Linked DNA regions of Homo sapiens: region 2 is linked to region 1. The links are contacts of gene promoters, found by promoter capture Hi-C in human tissues and cell types (Jung and others, 2019). All regions are on one chromosome and are shown on one strand. Each heading gives the region's core, a stretch centred on a gene start or on the middle of the fragment in contact. The rest is flanking DNA. Distances are from core to core; before and after follow the strand shown.

The links. The method cuts DNA at HindIII sites, captures the fragments that hold promoters and counts their contacts. A contact is called where the count stands out against the background at its distance.
Region 2: a fragment that was not itself captured here is called in contact with the fragment with the promoter of INPP5D in region 1 in 3 of the 25 tissues and cell types used here (heart left ventricle, hippocampus and thymus).

Annotation. Positions count from the first base shown.
Region 1 is chr2:233,055,282-233,063,051 of GRCh38, forward strand. INPP5D (inositol polyphosphate-5-phosphatase D) reads left to right here and starts at 5,061. Exons shown (of 27, transcript NM_001017915.3): 1 at 5,061-5,331. The coding sequence starts at 5,198. RefSeq lists enhancers at 4,736-5,015, 5,616-5,705, 6,792-7,385, 7,386-7,770 and silencers at 5,216-5,295, 7,366-7,415. The HindIII fragment of the contact is 3,353 bases long and covers 4,571-7,770 here.
Region 2 is chr2:232,784,988-232,792,757 of GRCh38, forward strand. It overlaps GIGYF2 (GRB10 interacting GYF protein 2), which reads left to right. Exons shown (of 29, transcript NM_001103146.3): 9 at 2,163-2,342; 10 at 5,711-5,928; 11 at 6,021-6,183; 12 at 6,271-6,459. Among named protein-coding and RNA genes, the nearest start is that of KCNJ13, 12 kb to the left of the region's middle. The HindIII fragment of the contact is 4,915 bases long and covers 1,277-6,191 here.

The DNA of each region.
Region 1 (7,770 bases), core at 3,811-6,310:
GGAGGGGAACAGTGGTGCTTGATCCCAGGAGGCTCCCTGTGAGTGGCTGCTCCCTTCTCCAGCAAAGGATGTCTTATTATCAGGTCTGAAGATGAGGGAAGTTCACTATTGATTACGCCAGCCAGTGAGCAACTTTCTAACTTCACGGTCAAGTATTTGCCCTTCTATTAATCAGGGTTCTTCAGAGAAGCAGATAGATAAGTAGATAGATTAGATAGATAGGGAGATAGATGGCTAGATAGATAGGGAGATAGATGGCTAGATAGATAGATAGATGGCTAAATAGATAGATGGATGGCTACATGGATGGATAGATAGATGGCTAGATAGATGGATGGATAGCTACATAGATGGATGGATAGATAGATAGATAGATAGATGGCTAAATAGATAGATGGCTAGATAGATAGACAGACAGATGGCTAGATACATAGACAGATGGCTAGATAGATATATGGATAAATAGATGACTAGATAGATAGATGACTAAATAGATAGGCAGATCGATAGATTTATAGATCAATAGATAGATAGGTAATAGTTAGACAGATGGCTAGACAGATGGATGGCCAGATAGATAGATAGATGGCTAGATAGATAGTGACTAGATAGATGGATAGGTAGATGGCTAGATAGATAGATGGATGGATGGTTAGCTAGATAGCTAGATAAATGGCTGGATAGATAGATGGATGGCTAGATACATAGATGACTAGATAGATAGTGGCTAGATGGATAGATAGATGGATGGCTAGATAGATGGCTAGATAGATAAATAGATGGATAGATAGATAGATGGCTAGATAGGTGGATAGATAGGTGGATGGCTAGAGAGATACACAGATGTATGGATAGATAGATAGATAGATAGATAGATAGATAGATAGATAGATAGATAGATATGGAATTGGCTCATAGGATGGTCAAGGCTGGCAAGTGCAAAGTCTGTAGAGTGGGCTGGCAGGCTGGAGACCCCGGGAAGAGTTGATGCTGCGGCTCGAGTCCATAGGCAATCTACTGGCAAATTTACTCTTTGGAGGAAGTCAGTCTTTTTCTATTAAGACCTTCAGCTTATTGGATGAGGCCTACACACAGGAATTGCTTTACTCAAAGTCTACTGATTTAAATGTTCATGTCATCTAAAAAATACTTTCAGAGAGACATCCAGAATAATGTTGACCAAATATCTGGGTCCTGAGGCCCAGCCAAGTTGACATAAAATTAACCATCACTGCTCCCTTTGCTTTTAGCACTCAGTGAGTGAACACTTTCAGCCCCTGCACCCCAAGCCATGAGTGATATCTATCTATCCACCCAGGCTGGGGGGAGTGGGAGCCCTGGGGCATAGTAAAGGGCTTCGATGAACACAGGAGGGGAAGGGAAGTACAGAGACAAATGCTTAGATATATTGTATATCTGTTAACATTGTATAGTAAATATATATTATATATATATAATGTGTGTGTATATATATACACACTATATATATGATGTAATGTGTGTGTGTATGTGTGTATATATATATATATATATACACACACACACACACATATATATATACAGTATATATTGACCTCTGCCTCCCCTCTCCTGGCTCAGTCCCTTCTCAGACCCTGAAATTCTTTCTGTTTCTTGTCCACGGTGGAAGGACCCCTGGACAAGAAGCTTGGTGTCTCCATTGTCCCTCTCTCCCAGCCTGCCCTGACCCTGTCCTGAGACTCAAACCTTCCTGTGACCCGCCCTCACTTAAGGTTGCCAAAGCAGAATTGCTCCAATGCCTTGGCCCTGCCATGTCAGCCCTCCTCTTCAACACTGAGGCCTGTCTGTTCTTCCCGGAGCTTCTAGAGTTGGCTGAGTGCCCATGACCAGGTGCCTGCCAGACCACCCTGATGCTTCTCACTGCCCAGCTTTCCCAGAAATTGTTCAAGTCCCCTGATGGGGCCTGGGGCTTGCCAGGGCTGGCAGTGCCTTTGGGCAGGTGCCCCAGTCTGGACCCAGGATCACATGAGTGAGTCTGACCCCACTTCTTCCCCTCAGCTGCTTTCCAAGCCTCTGCCCCATGGGTGAGGTTGACCAGATGCTCCAAGGAATGCATAGACTCACACTATGCAATCGCTCTGGGGCCCTATGGCTGGGTGTGACTCCTGGGCACAGCCTGGGGAGCAGGTTTCTCCTTTGAGTGGCCCCGAGCATTGAGGACAGCAAGGATAGTGGCAGGTGGTCTAGGCCCTCATCACCCCTGCCAGCAGCAGCTGGCAGTCCCTTATCCCTTCTGGAGGCTCCTGTCCACTATCAGGCAGCTGCCTCCTCCAACGTCTTTCGAGGACATTGCTCCACAGCACCGATACACCCACGGGCTCTTCCCATCAGCATCATCTCCCACCTCCCATCCATGTGGTGATGCTGAGCTCTCCACATTGATCCTGCCAAGCCAGATGCAGGCAGACATCCCTGGAGAGTGAGACTGCTCTTGTATGTGGAGGGCCAGGGTGCAATCATCATCAAATGGGATCTCAAGGTAGGAATGCAGTGATTATGGCCTAACACATTCAAGAGAATATGGCTGGAAGATGTGTGGTTCTACCTTTATGCTATAAAATTTGGAACAGTAATTTTTTTTTTTTTTTACTGTGTCGCTCTATCACCCAGGCTGGAGTGCAGTGGCACGATCTCGACTCACTGCAATCTTCGCCTCCTGGGTTCAAGTGATTATCCTGCTCAGCCTCCAAAGTAGCTGTAGCTGCGATTATAGGCACGTACCACACCCACCTGATTTTTTTTTTTTTTTTTTTTAGTAGAGACAGGGTTTCACCATGTTGGCCAGGCTGGTCTCAAACTCCTGACCTCAGGTGATCCACTCCCCTCAGCCTCCCAAAGTGCTGGGATTACAGGTGTTAGCCACTGTGCCTGGCCACTCTCTAGCCATTATTTGAAGTCTTCATTGATAAATCACTATCCCTCACATGAGTTTGTGAATTTTGTAATACGTTAAAATTATTTATATTGACTGGAGACCTACAAAAAAAAAAAATCCACCCACCAAAAGGGCAGCTCTGATCTAGATACTGGGATTTCCTGAATGTGGAGGGCAGAAGGGTGGGGGACAAGCCAGCTGACCATGCTGGATAGATCAGGCAATTGGGTGGAAAAGGAAGCAAAGTTGGGATGGGCCTTAAAAATGAGGGAAGAGTGCCCGTGTGGCGTGTGTGCCAGGGGATCTCACTCTGTGGAATGGCAAGGACCGTGGGAATAGAGGTGTGAGAGGTGGGGGGCTGGGGGTTTGGGGGAAGCTCTCTAAGTAGGGCAGTCTTGGCATGGTAGGGGTCTCTAGAGATGAGTGGGTGGAGGTGTAAAGGGACCAGTATTGCAAATGGATCCTCCTGGTGGCGTGGTCCAGGACTTCATGGATGTTGGTGGAGGCCAGCAGGGAAGTGAGAAGGGTGTGAAGGTACACAATGGGAGCATAGGAGATGACCCCATAAGGAGGGGGTGGACAGGTGCTGAGTGGAGGCGTGGGTGGGGAATGAGAGGCCTCCACACTGGGCTGCTGCAGAGGTGGCGTGCTGCGGAAGGGCCGGAGCATGGAGGCCAGTTCCCATCACCACTCTATCCCCACGCCTGGCTCCCAGCCTGGCCAGAGGTCCTTGACTGGGAGTGCTTTGTCTGCCCTACAGACTCGCCTGCCATGTGTGTTGCTCAGCGGGGAGGTGCTGGGGGCCCTGTTCTGGGACAACCATCAGTGTGACACATGTTGAGCCCCTGGGCACATGTGAGCTCTTTTACGAGCTACGTCCTTCAAGTTAGACAAGAAGAAACCAAGGCCGAGAGAGAGAAGAAACTTGACCAGGTTCCCACAGCTTGAATGTGGTGGCGCTGCCTGGCTGGTGCCCCTTCCTGGAGGGAGTCTGTTGTCATGTCCTGGAGGCCAAGGCCTGGATGTGGGATGGTGGGGGCACTCTTTGTGCAGCGGGTCAACACGTGCCCCTTCGGCCTTGGTGGGCCGGACCCAAGGACGGAAGGTGCCCAGGTCTGGGGGCTGAGGGATGGGTGTCCACCGCAGAGCCCTCAGAAATGACTGGTCCTGGATGGCGGTCCCTGGAGAGGCAGCTCCTCTTTGAGTGGTGGGCATATGTGGCCATGCCCAGTCTTGGAGGCGGTGCAGTCCGACCGGCCACCCCGACTGCTGAGACGCAGGACTCAGCACCCAGTGTTGTCCTTGGCCAGGCGGCCAGCCTGCCCTGTGGGGCTTTGGGGTTCTCCTCTCCGAGCTTGTTTCCCCAGCATCCTGGAGAAGCCCAGGGAAAAACCCAGCCTATGTTCCCGCTGTAAACGGCCCACATCCCCTCCAAGCTCCCTTTGTGTGTCTCCAAGCTGGACTGCAGGGATCAGAGCTGTGCTGCCCGTGCAGCACCCACCCGCCCCTGGGAATGAGGGTAATGGGGTCACAGAGCCATCACTTGGACCTTGGCGCCCTCGGCTGGTGGCAGCCAAGGTCTCCCAGCACCCAGGCCGCTGGGAGTCTCTAAAGGGGAGGGGTGGGGCTCGACTGTCCCCTCCCCCTCAAGTTTGCTCTGTCCTGGGCAGGCCGTAGTCCCAGTTGAGAAGCTGTGCCCCCTTGGGTGTTTTGGAGGTTCAGGGTGGGTGCTGAAAAGCCCTGAGGGAGAGCAGAAGGCTCGGGGGCCTGTCTAGGGCATGGCATCCCACGTGGGTGTCAGCACGGCCGCAGAAGAACCACTTCTCTGGCCCACCCATGCCTGCTAGGCCATGCTTCTTCAGAAGTGGCCACAACTCTCCTGACGTCTCCAGAGCCGGTCATTCCACCCAGGGGGACTTCAGCTGCCACTGGACACTTCAATTGTACGCTGCGACCAGTTGCCAGGAAGGAGAGGGCTGGCAAGAGAGCCGCGGCAGCCGTGGCAGGGTGTAGGGGACGGTGGACGGCCAGGGCCCCCCCCTCTCTCTCTTTCTCTCTCTCTCTCTTGCTTGGTTTCTGTAATGAGGAAGTTCTCCGCAGCTCAGTTTCCTTTCCCTCACTGAGCGCCTGAAACAGGAAGTCAGTCAGTTAAGCTGGTGGCAGCAGCCGAGGCCACCAAGAGGCAACGGGCGGCAGGTTGCAGTGGAGGGGCCTCCGCTCCCCTCGGTGGTGTGTGGGTCCTGGGGGTGCCTGCCGGCCCGGCCGAGGAGGCCCACGCCCACCATGGTCCCCTGCTGGAACCATGGCAACATCACCCGCTCCAAGGCGGAGGAGCTGCTTTCCAGGACAGGCAAGGACGGGAGCTTCCTCGTGCGTGCCAGCGAGTCCATCTCCCGGGCATACGCGCTCTGCGTGCTGTGAGTACAACCTGCTCCCTCCCCGGGCACAGATATGACAGAGGGGCTTAGAGGGGGCCCAGCTTTGAGATGGGTTGTTCTTATGTCACAGGACAGAGTGATCTGACATGCACACTTCCCCGCCACCCTGTCATGGACCTTGTCCTTGGAGTTCAGAGAGCTGGTCTCATGGCAGGTTTTGCAGCCTTGGAGCTGTCAGAACCACTCTGAGGCCTGATGTTACACCCCAGCTTCCCATGAGCTGTATGGACCTTGTGGCTTCCTTGGAGTCTGGGGACCGAGAGAAGGGAGTTTGGGCTTTTGGAGCCAGGAGGAAGCTCAGGGCTCTGTGGAGGTGGGTGTGTTAGAGATCAGCTCAAAGATGCCCAGCTCAGAAACCCTGAGAAGAGCAAAGGTGGCAAGGGGGACCCTTCCTGGAGCACCCAGGCTTCGGGCCCCTGGAGGAAGCTGTTGTTTGGCGAGCCAAGAATATGGGGTGAGTTTAATCAAGAAAGGACTTTCCATTCAGTCAGAAGCTGCTTTCAGGGGCCTGAGAGCAGAGGAAGTCACCATTACCACCAGCGAGCAGCCTCTTCTCTCTCCTGAGCACTTGGCTGTGACCGCTGCCCACCCCCCACCCCCTCAATTTGGGTCTCTGTCACCATCAACTCCTCCCACTGCCCGGTTGGGGATGTTACTGAATGTACCAGCTGTGCTAACAATGGAGGAACCAGCCACTTGCTGAAGGTTCCTTTCTAAAACCCCCTTCCTGTCCAGCGTCTGAAGGAGGCCCTTGCCCTGCAGCTCTCGGTCTAATCATAGGGGGGCCTTGCCCTGCAGCTCTTGGTCTAATCATTTTGCCGGGGCCTCAGGCAGTGCCGGAGTGTAGTCAGGGAAATGTGTGTCCACCTGAACATCTCAAGTAGCATCCCTGGGCTGGCAGAAATGTTCCCCCGAGCAGCCAGGGCCTTGTGCTTCTCCAGGCAGGAGGGGAATTGGGTGATGAACCCAGACCTGTTTTGAATACTGACTCACAGCTGGGACCTGTCGTGCTAAGCATTTGTTAGCCCATTTCATCCTCACCACAACCTAAAGTGAAGGTCCTGTTAAAAGCCCCACTTTGCAGATGAGAAATCTGAGGCCCTGGCAGGTTAAGTGAGTGACAACAGTCAAAGCCACGGCCATCTGCCCCCAGAGGCTGCAGCTGAGACCAGCAGCCTGTGGCCCAACCTCTCCTGCTCCCAGTCCAGCGGGGCAGGCATGTAGCCTTGCAGGGCTGGAGAAAGAAGCAAGGGGAGCCACAGTGTTTACAGGGTCAGCTGGGGCACTGGAAACCAAGCCAGGCTCGCAGCTGGTCGCTGGCCTGTGCTGACAGTCTGCAGCCCCACCTCCAAAGACTGGTTTCCTGTGTCCCCTCTCTCATGCCTCAGGGGAAGGAACGCAGGCCCAGGCTGCCTGGACTTCCCCAGTGGGGACCTGCTGCTGCCGGGGCCTTAGAAGGAGCAGGAAGATTCTCTTAGGCCTCTCACAAGCCCAGTCTGACTCCACCTGGCCCATGTGGGTTACTTGGATTTCTCTCCTGGCCCAGTGGGATCTTGTCCTGGCTGTTTGGTGTTGGCTGAGCCGAGGGCTTCCAGGGCCCCATCTCATTAACCTTCAACACAGCCCTTTGACCAGGGCTTGCTTTGTGGTTGCTCAGGTTACAGACATGGGGCGTGGGTCTCTCTGACTCCGAGCCGTGAGCATCTTAACGTCTAGGATTAGCCTGAGCCAGAGTCAGAGCTGGAGAGGCCTTGGAGAAGCTCTGGTGCAACAGCCCTGGCTTTTCAGGAGGTAGACAGAGGGCAGAGAGCCTGAGGCCTTTGTCCACCATGCTGGCTGGGGTCAAAACTGCTGGGATCCAGGCCAGTTCTCGTATTCCTTCCTCTACCTCTTCTCTCTGAACCCTTGTCTGCACTGAGTTCTCTCAGAGTCATGATGGGTGTGCAGTGTCTGCTCCTTAGAGAGGGACCTGTGGTGCCTACAGATGTCCACTATCCTCTCAGCCGAAGCCTCGTCAGCCTCCTATCCTGAGGCTGCTGGGCTGCAAACACCAGGAGTCCCACCCCTTGGCCAGACAAACCCTGGGCTCAGTGTTTCCCTTTCTCCTCTGCTCAGGGTGGGAAGCTTCCCTTCCTGCAGGGTCAGGCTCCACTGTAGGCCGTGGGTTGCTATGGACCTGCAGACTTTCCATACATCTGCAGGCTTCATATGGCTGCCACCCTGGATTTTGCCAATTACGGAGATTTTAAAACTAAAAACTAATTAAATGAATGATAACAAACTGTCATCTTCCAACACCTCATTTCTTGAAAGAAAGCAGCCTTTGACACCAAAAGAGGCAGGAAGGGCATTAAAAAAAAAAAAGCCAGTCATTTAAAGCAAAGAGATTGAACTTCTTGAAAAACAAACCCTACCACC
Region 2 (7,770 bases), core at 2,484-4,983, 270 kb before region 1:
ATGAGTAACAGCTTCCTGAGGTCTCACTGGAAGCCAGACAGATGCTGGTGCCATGCTTGTATAGTCTGCAGAACCACGAGCCAAATAAACAACTTCTTCTTCTTTTTTTTTTTTTAATAAATTACCCAGCCTCAGGTATTCCTTTATAGCCATGCAAAATGGACTAATAAACCAAGGAAAGCCAGAATATAGTTCTGACATTCCAGACACGTCCTGCAGGTAAGAGCAAGGTCATAGATAATAAAACCCTTGCTTGGTGGTTCAAAACAGCAAACATTTATTATCTCAGTTTCTGTGGGTTGGGAATCTAGAAGCAGCTTAGCCTAGCTGGGTGGTTCTGGCCCAGGGTTCTTGTAAGGCTGCACTCAAGGTGTCAGCCCATGCTGCAGTCTCTCAAAGCTCAACTGGGGTTTGATCCACTTCCAGACTCACTCATGTTTCTGGTGGTAAGTCTCAGTTCTTTGCCATGCAAGCTTCTCCACGAGGTCTGTGTCACTACATGGCAACTAGTGTCCTTCAGAGAAAGTGTCCAAGATGGAAACTACAGTCTTCTTTAATATTTTAAGTGGCATCTCATCACTTCAGCTGCATTCTGTTAGTCCAGCTTATAATTGGGGGTAGAGGATTCCACAGAGATCAGCAGTCAGGGATTGTTGGTGAGCTCTTAGAGGCTGTCCACCACAATAAGAAAGCAGCAGATCATGTCTTCCATTCTCCCAAGATATTTTATCTTTCAGTAGAATGATACCTAGTAGCAGACTAACAACCATATGGACAAGCAGGATGCTGAATCTCAATATATGTAAGATGGAATATAACAGAATGACCAGAAATTAGAATTTCATTTTCATATGCTGTTGTTCAATTATTTTTTCACTTTTAGTATGGATTAATTAAAAGGATTGAGTTTGTCATTATGAGAACTTGAACTTTTATTGTTATAAACTGAGGACATCAATGTATGTTATTCTGGATTTTCAACTATTTTGATGTGAGATTTTATAAATGTTATGAGTTATATATGTTAGCACATGTGGAATGGTGACTGAAGAATTTGTTTGCACAATTTAGAATGATCTTGTCCTTTTAAAATACCAGTTTAGTTTACTTGGTATACCAGGCTCTCTTTTGACATTAATGTAACTTTTGAGACATTAGGTTAGACATAGCTTAGCTTTAAATTCTGTCCAAAAGCAATTTATGGTATGCCTGTATTGTATTAGGTGCTAGAGTAAATGAGGTTATACTACTTTTCAATTTTTTTTTTTGAGACGGAGTCTTGCTCTGTCACCCAGGCTGGAGTACAGTGTCGCGATCTCTGCTTACCGCGACCTCCGCCTCCTGGGTTCAAGCCATTCTCCTGCCTCAGCCTCCTGAGTAGCTGGGATTACAGGCACTTGTCACCACACCCAGCTAATTTTTGTATTTTGAGTAGACATGAGGTTTCACCACATTGGCCAGGCTGGTCTCCCAACTCCTGACCTCGTGATCCACCTGTCTCGGCCTCCCAAAGTGCTGGGATTATAGGCGTGAGCCACCACGCGGCCTGCTTTTCAGTTTATAATCTGTTTTGGAATGAAAGACGGCCTGAAATGTACAGATATCATGTTTAGGCAGAATCACCAGTAGGTGTTGGTTATATAAAGTATGTTGTATGATGAAAAATATCTTATAACTTTAAAAAGTATGTGCTAGTAAGGAAGGATTGGCAAGATACACTGTTAGTGAAAACAGCAAACAAAACAACATTTATAACATCCTGAGGGTGGCGTTTGTGTGTGTGGATGAGGGAGCTATGTATACATGTGTAAGTGTACCCATGGACAGTGTTTGGAAAGACTTTATAAGAAACTTGGTGATGGTTCCTTCTGGGGAGTACGACTCTGAGGGTCTTGTGTAGGAAGATGGACTTTTCATTGTACGCTTTTTCAAAAAAAATTTTACATAATATTTTTGTTTAAAAAAATTGCCCAGTCTCTGAACATGGCTTTAAGAAATGTGTCTAATAATATATACATATACCCACTGTTATTTTAGTGATTTTTTTCTGAATATTGAAATGGACCCATTTGCAGGAAAGCTTGATTTGAGCTGTGAAGTTTGTTTTCAAAGCCTATACTGGCAGAGGCTCATGTTTACTTACCATATTATTTTCTTTATAGGGAGACCAAATTTTGAGGAAGGTGGACCAACATCAGTAGGGAGAAAGCATGAATTTATACGCTCAGAAAGTGAAAATTGGCGCATCTTTAGAGAGGAACAAAATGGAGAAGATGAAGATGGAGGTTGGCGACTAGCTGGATCAAGGAGGGATGGAGAGAGGTGGCGACCTCACAGTCCTGGTAAGAATTCTGTTGAGTAAAGGCACACAGGGACTGAAATAAGGGAAAGTTTGATGGAAATAGGGATTAAATGAAAAAGATAAACTGGCTTAAAAAATGTGGGGGTGGATTCATATTATTTATGCTGTCACAGTTTTATTACTAGAAAAAATTGCAACATAAAAATTTCCTACATCTATTCAGTTGATTGAAATCACTTTTCTATTTTTCTGGGGCAAATAGTGTAGTTTAATGGGAAGCACCTGCGCTCAACTGCAGAAATGAGGGTTTCATTCAGTTTTGTCTACCTCTAAATCTCTGAATCTTTTTTAGCATTCTTTAAGATTTATAAATGTGTAAAAATTACACACTTGAAATATGTGCTTCCCTCCCCAACAATGAGTGTTTTTCCTAACAAGAAAGGGTTTATTCTTTCATTTTTTCCCTTTTGAAAATGTGATTTAACCTTATTTGAAGAATAAGCTTTAAACCTAGGTCAGAAACATAATCACAAGTTCATTCTTATGTCCTTCTAACTTTAGAAGAAGGAGAGACAATAGTAGTGATTAGTGGCTTTTAAAGTTCTTCTGTTTGTCTCTTAAAAATGCTCAAACTGTTCTTCTTGGACATTAGATATGCTAGTAATTGAAGACACTAGTGCTTTGTGTTAAAGTTCATCCTGTACCACAGTGCTGATTCCATGCCTCATGATAATCAGATGCAACTGTAGTTCCAATTGTGGGGTCATGCAAAACTGAAGCACACAGAGTATATGTGGAATGCCCTATGAATTTCATGTGTATGACAGTATTTTATCAACCATGTGCCAGAGGGGCTTACCTTTAATACAGGAAATTATGATAAGTAAACTGTTTTCACTTTTAAAAATCAAGTTATTAGCAAAACCACTAGCTTAGATCTGGGTAGACATTATAACAGGCATTCAGAGTATTTTAAGGAAGTGGTAGGTAGATAGAAACATACTGAAGTTAATGTTTGGGTAGAGTTAGGATGGTTTTATACCAACTCTTCATGGCTGCCTCTTGGGTGGGTTTTCTGTCATTAGTGGGCATTGTTTACATCACAAGGTCTAGACAATTTTCATTAGTCTGTGACCTGGGCCAGATGTTATAGTTCTCTAAAAGGCATCACTGCATTTTATGCTGAGCTTGTCCGTAGGCAGAGGGTTTGTAGACTATGTTCCCAACAAGCATTCAGTGAAGAATGGATAGGATCTGGGCTGAGAGAGAAAAGAAATTCCAGCTGGTCAAAAACAAACAAGGTGAATGTTTTGGAAGATGAACTGTGTTTTTTGAGCCCAAATGTCTGATGTTGATTCTATTAAAGGGAGTTTAACAAAGTACCTCCCACCCAACAACTTAGAATTTGGTTATATATTATCTTCTTCTCATCTTTTCTGAATCTTTCTTTCCCCCTAATATTTGACTTTCATATCATTTTTGTCATCAACTTGTGTATCTTCCAGAACTTTTAATCCATATACATATATATTTTTTCAGTCACACCTGTGGCTGAAATCCATATATTTTTAAAAGACAGTTTGGGGGATATAAAGATCCCCCAAATATAAAGTTTGGGTCTGAAAAAACAGTGTAAATGCATTTTAAAAAAGAATACGATTCACTTTTTAAACCCAGTATATTCAAAGTATAGCCTGATTATAGCAGTTTTCATATGTTAACTCTTAACGTTTGTTAGTTTATGGTTAATCTTTTATTAAGATTTGAGTAAAACTTTAAATTATTTTAACTGATTTTATGAAAATAGTATCCAACTTTAGTTTAGATGTAGGGTCTGTAAATCAGCAGTCAGCCTTAATAAGTACCTTGCATGTCTTACTTGCTATGTTTAGTTTCGTGAGTAAAATTTTATGAACTACTGATAAGATAACATTATGGGATATAAAATAGGGCTTCCGGCTGGATGTGCGTGGGGGTGGGAACATTAAGGACAGGGAGGCATCCAGTCTGGGAGCTGAACCTAGGAAAGTCAGTAAGAGGAGAAACATGAGCCAGGTACCTAGAAGGATAGATTCCTGTCATGATGTACATTTAGACTGTTAGAAATGAAAGCAGTACAGAGGGCTCTGGAATTCATTTGATCATGAAGACTCTTTTCACATAATGGCTCTAGGTTTCCACGTAAGCAGTCTGAGTATAAAATTCCTTAGTTCTCATAGGAAGTAGTAAATAGTGTTTTGTTGTTTTTATATGAAGGGATGGGAGTGTGGGACTAAGATTTCTTTTTTGTGAGTGGCTTATCAGATGCTACCTGTATTTGGCATTTTAACGTTTTGCCCTTTGTTTTCCAATTTGATTTTTAGATTGCTGGTTTTTGCAAAGTTTGTCTCAATAGTGAGAACATTTAACTCTGGCCACATTTCTTTTTCTTATCCCCCACAGAGAAAGCAGTCAAGGATGGAAAATTCTAATAGGTTAAAGCCTGCTTTTCTTTTTAAGACTCTTTTAGACTCAGGTCTGTCAGATTTTAGCAAGAGTTTCCCTTTCTTTTTTTTAGAAAAATATCTTAAGTAGGATCTCTTATTATTAGGCAATCTTTTCTTCTGTTGGGAAATGTAGATTTGGGAATGTCCGTAGGGGTATTATATGGATAGGGAGAATTAAGAGATGAGAAAGAAGGGAGAGGAGTAAGTATGTTATTGTGGAACAAGCAGCAGAGGGTGCAGAATTGGATTTTAGTTCTACTTTGCCATGTGCGAGTTACTTCTGCTGGCAAAGTTTTAGTTTCTTCTTAAACTATAAAATTAGGATAGTGAACTTCATAAAATCTCTGTGACAACTTTCAGCACTGTAATTTTGTGAATTTTTGGGGGAGGATCAGAATTACAAGTGGGAACCTGGCATTAATAAATAGTCATGATGAGTTTGATATAAGTCAACACAGGGAGCTGATTTTATCCACAAACAATGATATTTTCATGGGAAGAAAGAAAATGCTTTAAGATTGGGCAAAAGGAAGGTGTAAACTTCAGTATGGAAGGATGTCTAGTGCATTAAGTCTGGATGAGGAGTTGGCGGCTAATCAGTATTTTAATCAAGTACCTAGGACTTACTGAAAGTGCGTACTTGGAATACAGTGTCCTTTAAATGTACTGCATTTTAGATTTATCTTTTAAAGCTTTAGAGTATGTTGCCTGGCTCAGTACTTAAGTACTGTTGTCATCTCGTAATGGTACATATACTCTGAACTCTGAACTTCATTTAGTTGCCTAATGTTCTCTTTACTAGGTCAGTCCATTTGAGTTTGCGGTCACTTGTAGTTTTCTCCTTTATTTTCTATTCCTGATTTTCTTATTCAAATACTGTCATAAAACTTTTCTAAGGTTTGTGTCCTCCTTCTCATCTCAGATGGCCCTCGTTCTGCAGGCTGGCGGGAACACATGGAACGACGTCGGAGGTTTGAGTTTGATTTTCGAGATAGAGATGATGAACGGGGTTACCGAAGGGTTCGCTCTGGCAGTGGGAGCATAGATGATGACAGGGATAGCTTGCCCGAATGGTGCTTAGAGGATGCTGAAGAAGAAATGGGTACATTTGACTCATCTGGAGCATTCCTTTCTCTAAAAGTAAGAAACGTGTTTTAAATGTCATGACCAGCATTAACCTTATACCAAAGCCAAATCTGCTGTTGATCTTTGGTTTTATTCTCTTTCTACAGAAAGTACAGAAAGAGCCTATTCCAGAAGAGCAGGAGATGGACTTCCGGCCTGTGGACGAAGGGGAGGAGTGCTCTGACTCTGAGGGTAGCCATAATGAAGAGGCCAAAGAACCCGATAAGACAAATAAGAAAGAAGGAGAGAAAACAGATAGAGTAGGAGTTGGTAAGGCCTCTTCTTGCCCTTTGCCTTTTTTTTCCTCCATCAAACCAAAACTTTCGTAAGTTCAACTAAGATTACTTCGTGTTCCAGAAGCTAGTGAGGAAACTCCCCAGACCTCATCATCATCTGCTAGACCAGGTACTCCTTCAGACCATCAGTCTCAGGAAGCATCACAGTTTGAGAGGAAAGATGAACCAAAAACTGAGCAAACGGAAAAAGCTGAAGAGGAGACTCGGATGGAAAATAGTCTACCAGCCAAAGTGCCCAGCAGAGGGGATGGTATGTATTTGTGGGAATAGACAAGCTAAAATAGGATTCTGCTGAGGCCAGTGATCACTGATAAGTTAGGCTTCTGCTTATGCCTCCTAGAACTGCTTTTAGTGGGTGAATTATCGGAATAGATTATTTTACCAGTAAACCCAGTCAAACAGTGCTTCTCACGTATGTGTCCATCTCAGAATTACCAAAACAGAGTTCGAATCTGCAAGGGTGGAGCTCTGGAATCTCATGTCCTAAGGTGTTATGACATAGCCACCCTGTCATTACTGGTGAACTGGGTGTCATAGCCTTTGCATTAGTTTGATTCCCGTATTAGACAGTTACCTTCCTTTCATGTGTTGACTAATTATGTGCCCAGCTTAAATTACCAGATGACACACCAAAATGCCATTTTTCTAAAAGAGGACAAGTAGAGAACATATGTGAATCTGTGGCAGAATAAGCTTAAAACATATCTCTTTCAGTTGTTAGTGTATTGGTTTAAGTTGCTCATACACTTTATTAGGCAATATTAATGCTCATTTCCATGTTTCTTCTTGTACGTATTTAAAAATGTCATTGTAATGCCTGACGTTGAAGGGTTACTTGATTCATTTACCATAAAAATTGATACCCTTTAACATGGCATATGAGACACTGCACAATCTGGCATCTGCTTCCCTTTGTGCAGTTTCATTGCCAGCCTCTTTACTTCCCTCACGTTCTACTTACCAGCCTCAAAGCCTTTTAGGTCCTGAACTGTCTCCTGTTTTCTAGGATTCGTACCTTAGCACATCCTTTTCTCTGTTCTTGAAACTCTCTTCCACCCAAAGCCCCCAAACTAGGGTAGGTGTCTTCTTCGTTTCTTAAACAACCAGGCTTATTTCTAACATAGCATTATAATATCATAAAGATGTTTATTACCTTGTTTTCCCAGTAGACTAATATTTTGAGAGCTCAAACCCAGGAATTTTTCAATTTTTTAAATGTCTAGAACAAAGCTGATTATTTTTTTAAAGAGATGGGATTAACTGGGTGTGATGGCACGTGCTTGTAATCCCAGCTACTCGGGAAGCTGAAATGGGGGAGATCACTTGAGCCCAGGAGTTTGAGAACAGTGTGGACAACATAGCAATAGCAAGACCCCTGTCTCTAAAAACAAAACAACAACAAAAATGAGACAGGGCCTCACTATGTTGTTCAGGCTGGATCCGAACTCCTGGGCTCAAGTGATCCTCCTGCCCTTAGCTTCCTGGTTAGCTCAGCAAGTATTTGAATCTGTGCTCTACATAGCAGGCACTGTGAGACTGATATATCTTTGAGGCAGTTTGA